Regions from separate parts of the Homo sapiens genome. Here region 1 is linked to region 2. Evidence: promoter capture Hi-C in 16 types of primary human blood cells and fetal thymus (Javierre and others, 2016). All regions are on one chromosome and are shown on one strand. Each heading gives the region's core, a stretch centred on a gene start or on the middle of the fragment in contact. The rest is flanking DNA. Distances are from core to core; before and after follow the strand shown. Region 1 has its middle 49 kb from the start of TYW3. Region 2 holds the start of SLC44A5 (solute carrier family 44 member 5).

The links. The method cuts DNA at HindIII sites, captures the fragments that hold promoters and counts their contacts. A CHiCAGO score of 5 or more calls a contact.
Region 1: a fragment that was not itself captured here is called in contact with the fragment with the promoter of SLC44A5 in region 2 in 1 of 17 cell types (M2 macrophages); the score reaches 5.3 in M2 macrophages.

What each region holds. Positions count from the first base shown.
Region 1 is chr1:74,780,477-74,783,458 of GRCh38, reverse strand. No RefSeq gene overlaps it. Among named protein-coding and RNA genes, the nearest start is that of TYW3, 49 kb to the right of the region's middle. The HindIII fragment of the contact is 2,629 bases long and covers 20-2,648 here.
Region 2 is chr1:75,609,586-75,612,463 of GRCh38, reverse strand. It overlaps SLC44A5 (solute carrier family 44 member 5), which reads left to right and starts at 1,350. Exons shown (of 24, transcript NM_001130058.2): 1 at 1,350-1,424. The HindIII fragment of the contact is 10,824 bases long and covers 1-2,878 here.

The DNA.
Region 1 (2,982 bases), core at 85-2,584, 830 kb after region 2:
AACGCAGTTTTAGAAAGCTTCATTAGTTTTCTATTGTATAACACATTACTCAAACTTAGTTACTCAAAACAACACTCATTTGTTATCTCACCGTTTCTGTGGATCAAGTGTCTGAGCCTAGGTTCTCTGCCTCAGGATCTAAGCAGGTAGCAATAAAGGTATTGGGTTGGAGGCTTGAATGGGGAAGAATTTACTTCCAACCTCTTTCAGATTGCTGGAAAGATTATATTTCTTGCAACTGTATTACCGAGGAATCTGCTTTTTGCTAGCTTTTGGCTAGTGTCTACTCTCAGGACTGAGAGGGCACCTGCAGTTCTTTGTCGTGTCACCCTTTCCATAGGCAGCTTATGACACGGAAGTTTGTAATGGAAAAGGTGGAAAACATTCATGAAGACATGAGAAATTTAAGCAAAGATGTGGAAACTATAAAATAGAGCTAACCTGGGATACAGGAGCAAGTCTGAGTACTGTATGGTGCTTGACACTTAGATCAACATCCAGATAATCGTCATGGAGAGAGTGCTATAAATTGAAGGAGGAGAAGAAGAAGCGGGAGGAGAAGGGGAAGGATAAATGAAAGGACAAGGAGAGAGGGAAGCGGAGGGGGAGAAGTAATGGAGGAGGTGAAGAAAGAAAGCACTGTTTTATTAAAAGTTCTGTAACACATTAGGGCAAGGGCAGATCTGAAGATGCATCAAATAGAATGTAATGCAAACAGTCGGAGACATATGTCCCTTTACCATGCTTATTTGGCGCACTGAGGAATTCAGTACGTTGGGTGTAGCCAGCACCTGGCAGAGCAGTGATAGGGCATGGAGGGAACTTCAGGTTCCTGAAAGGAGGCAGTGTTAGTTTCTGACAGGAACAGTGGTGTCTGGTATACACTTCAGTATCTAACGGAAGCACAAGTGAAGGTTAGTAAATGTGTTAGCATCCCAGTGGAAACAGTAGTAAGCACATATCTCAAAACAGTTTACTTAGTTTATACATGGTATCTTCTGGAGACTCCCGGAAAATGTACTGGGGACTTTTCAGGGACTTGATGTCTTGCATGGTATGTGGGGGCCAAAAAAAAATGACACCTGGATTAATATTCTGTTAATATTCTGTTAATAATATACTGTTAATATTCTGGCTATAAAATGGGCTGATAAGCCCTGCTTCTACTGAGATTTTGATGAATTAGAACTATTTCCCTTGTTGCAGAACTTTCATGATGAGGGAAAAGTGGTTTATTTCCTTGCTGTGTATAAAGTTGCTCAGTTGATATAACAGTCAGTTAAGAAATCAAAGAATATTCACCTTATTTTAGAATAAGTCTTGTTGATCCAAACCACAGGTGTTATTCTGTTAATGGTTTCATTTGTTCTTGAAAGACATCAACAGTCTTTTCCCCTTTCTATTTGGCATTCTTTTCTTTCCAGAGCATAGCTTATTGTGTGGGGGCTATGCCTTTTCCATTTTCGTTTATAAAAACTACTAGGCACTGCTTTAGTTACTTTACATTTATTGAGACAATTTCTTACTCTCAACTAACCTAATTTTATTTCTGGTGAAACTTGACTATCCTTAATAGGCCTTTCTGTTTTAATTCCTTGCATATTAGCACTGCTTTTCAACATCACTAGGTTGATTACAATCAAGAGCTTTAACTGCACCGTCCTTCAGTTTAGGTTTCAGTGTATGGATTTGAACAACTTATGCAACTCTGTCAAAAAAGGATTAACTCTGTCCTTAAGATTGAATTATATTCTTAGCAGAGTCTCCATTGAAAGTCACTTTTAAAAAAAGTAATCCAGGTGGCTCATAGTACCAAGTCAAGTATAAAAATAATAGAAATAATGACTTCTTTCTACTGTGTACAATGAAATTTGATGGAAATATTCAGGCCATGCAGCACTTGCCATTTTTAACATTATATTTGCAACAACATTTGCAGCTATAAGATAAAATATAATAATGATAATTACTGAATTATTAGTTATATCCACAGTTTTTGTAAAAAAAGAAACACTTTTAAGTTCACTAAGTCAAATAAGAGTACTTAATGTTTTGTGCAATTGTATGTTGTGTTTATTGGGTATTGGTGGCTAAATTCTTCCTGGTAAAAGGGTGGGAGAGAAATGAGAGGCCTCTAGAGCAACCAAACTGTGTTATAGTTATATCTTGCTTGTGATATACAACAGATACCGGATGGAAATCTGGACCTACAAAGTAATTCATTAAAAGTTGATAATTTGATTTCTAAAAGGATTCACTGCAAGGGGTTTTAAATTGTGGTCTCTAGAAAATAATGAAATGCTTATCAATTTTATTGCTAAAAGCAAGGTACATGTACCTCTGCTACTTTAGAGCTGAGCTGTGGAGATTACAAAAAAGTTCTGGGTTTTCCTTACAGGTAAGCTCCCCCCATCTGCCCTCTGACCCCCTACCAACGAACTTCAAAAACAAATGCATTAATTACCAATAGTTTTGTCCACATTTCTACCAGATTTGCCTGGTGAGCATGATTTTCAGCAATGGCTGTAAAGGTGCTGCTGCTGGTAATCACTTTTGTGAGTATAGCTGAGAAGAAAGCATTTTACAAATAACATCCTGCGGTAGGCCTGGGAGGGCAAAGCTCAGGGTCTCTTGCCTGAGAATAAGCTTTTTTACATCCTGATTTTTCCTGTCATTTACTGTTACTCAGAGGGAGAAGCACAGAGAGTGGGGTTTTGTGGCTTCAGGTTCATTTACATATGCATTGTTCAAAACCACTTGGACCTGGGCAAGGCTCAATTTTGAGATTCTGCTGACCTAGCAAGGAAAAGATTTAATGATGAACACGAAATTAGAAATGAAGATTTTAAAAAACAATAAAAACAAACTTGTTTTAGTGAAAACTTTCATGTTACTTTAAAGGAAATGTAATGCAAAACAATTTCTTTCTTCTCAAACTGACACAAATTGACTGTTGTTTTGTTTTTAACCTTTTACTTTTCT
Region 2 (2,878 bases), core at 101-2,600:
ATGCCAAGAACTGGAACATAACACTTCAGGCCTTAAGGTAGAAATGAGGTGGTAGCTTGGCACATTCACATACAAAAGGAAGAGGTGTAATGTGTAAGGAAGAGACAGTTAGGGAGAAGCCAGGCCTTTTTGGTCATAAAAAGGAATATAGAGTTTAAGTGCAATGAGAAGCCATTGGATATTCACTTGCTATTTGGGGATACATTCCTCTCCTGGAAGATTATTTCAGGGAGAGGAGCATTCCTACATCAACTCCCTAGGCCAACTAAGGTGACCTAATAGACTTCACTTTTCTAAAAGGTCCAGTTATACTCACGTTATTTTCTCTTGCTATTCACCAGAATACCTATGCAATTTCAGGCTGAGATATTGATAGCATCTCTAGGAATCCCTGCTTAGAAAACAATTCTAGAGAGAATGAGGATTAATTTAACATTTAGTACAAGATGATAAGATTAGTCACTTCCCTGGCAAGCCTTTCAATGCAAGTAAGTCTTAGGAAAAACATATTGTAATGGTAGAGGGGGATTCTGAGGGGTCCAGAACATGACTGTGCAGTAGGCAGAATGTGGAAGGCAGCATGAGGGGCTCCTAGATAACAGAAAGGGGTCCACAGAAGGAGAAGAGTGATGTTTGGAAGGGGACATGAGAAAGCCTCTAAAACAACATCAGCCAATTCGTGATTTTGCCAAGTGGAAGCCTGATATGAGCATGTTCCAAGAGAAACATTCTCATTCAAACACAGAAAAAGTTTAAACCAGGGTACTTTTATGCTTTTGACTGATCTTTTTATAATGAAGCATTTGTAACAATAAAAGCACACAGATGTTTACAAAGTCTCTTTGATTTTACTTAATCACTGTCAGGTTGTTCTGATGGATTACAGACCTCACAAATGAAAATAGCATGAACATATTAATGATAACTGCTGTTTGTTGGAGGTAGTTGCTTGATAGCTAGTTAAGGAAATCATGCTCTTGGGTCTCATTTTACTGTAGAGATGTTGGTAAGTGGGATATGGGGTATATTGGATGATTTTCTTTCCCCTAAGCATTTGTGACAAGAAGGTGCTATGATATTCAGGAAAGACACAAATAATAGTAGATTATTTTAAAGGTAATCATGGCCTACTTCCACCTCCAAACTACCTACTTCTTTGCCAAGGATTAACAATGAAAAAATATACTATAGCTCCAGGACTTTGTTCAGTCTCCTCCCCCTCTTTATACTCCAAGTGACTCCTTTGAGGCTAGCAAGGCTAGTAGGACCTCAGGGATTACCTAAGAATGGGGTATGGCCCTTAGTGATACTGGAACACAATGTGTTTATGACATCAGCTTTTTTTTCACAGTAGTGAATCGTAGCATGTTAGAGTTAGAAGGTTCAGTGTTGATGGAGTTATTGAAGAAATGATGGAGTAAGAGGTGAGTGATACTGCTAAATGCAAGAAGTCTATGTCTGTAGGAAAATTGGTCAAGTTTGTTATTCATAAGTACGTATTCTATACAACTCAAGAAATACACACACACACACACATATATATAGTGAAGTCTGAATATAAATTAGGAACTGAGCACTTCCTCTCCGTGTGTGTGTGTGTATATATATAGATATCCTGGGGGATTATTTAAAGAGAGTAGTATTTTTACATCAGCTCCCTAGGCCAAGTAAGGTGACCCAATGGACTTCACTTTTCTAAAAAGTCCAGTTACACTTATGTATCTTCTCTTAATATTCACCAAAATATCGACAATATTTCGGGCTGAGATGTTGATAACATCTCTAGGAATCCTTACCTACTGGTATTCACACCTGTTCATACTCCCCTTCCAAAATGAATCACAGCTGACCATGTGATCAGTACTGTACAGCAGAAAACTACATCATAAAGACATACACTATGGCTTCTGCCTTGTTCTTTTGTATTCTTTGCTTTCTTATGTTGCTCATTTTGGGGAAACCAGATGCCATGTTTTAAAAATACTCAAGGATCCCTTGGATTATTTTTTGAAGCAGAGGTTCATACAGATATTATTAACATTTCAGCCCAAAATATTGTCGGTATTTTGATGAATAGTAAGAGAAGATACATAAGTATAACTGCACTTTTTAGAAAAGTGAAGTCCATTGGGTCACCTTACTTGGCCTAGGGAGCTGATGTAGAAATATTGCTCTCTCTAAATAATTCTCCAGGATATCTATGTGTATATAGGTATATGTATGTATATGTATATACCTATGGAGAGAGAAGAAGAGCTCAGTTCCTAATTTATATTCAGACTTCACTATGTGTGTGTGTGTGTGTGTGTGTGTGTGTGTGTGTGTGTATTTCTTGACTTGCATAGAAGTCTTGAATCTTAGCTCTGTGTGGGAAGAACTGAGGCCTCCTGCTAATAGCAACAACTTGCTAGTTATGTGAGTGATCTATCTTGGGAACAGACCCTGCAACCAAGTCAAGCCTTCAGATGACTGTAGCTTCAGCCAACATCTGACTGAATTTCATGATAGCCCCGACCCAGAGCTATCCAATCAAGCTGCTTCTGGATTCCTGAATCACAGAAACCATAAGATATAATAAATGCTTACTCTTGTCTTAAACCACTAAAATTTGGGGGTAATAGGTTACATAACATTAGATCATGAATATACCTGTGGTTCATTATTTTTGCACCTCTATCATGAAATGTAATATTTGTTACTAGTTCCAACACTGATCTTGAATCTTAGCCCTCTTTCCTATTTAGTGAATTGGGCTGAAACCCTGAAGTTCTCTTTTCTTGTTTCCCTTGAGTTTCTTGTAGCAGCTTGCTTTCTCCTCTGCTTTTTTGAGTACTGATTCCTGGCTCCTCTAGTTCATTTAGTTTAGAAGATACTTTCC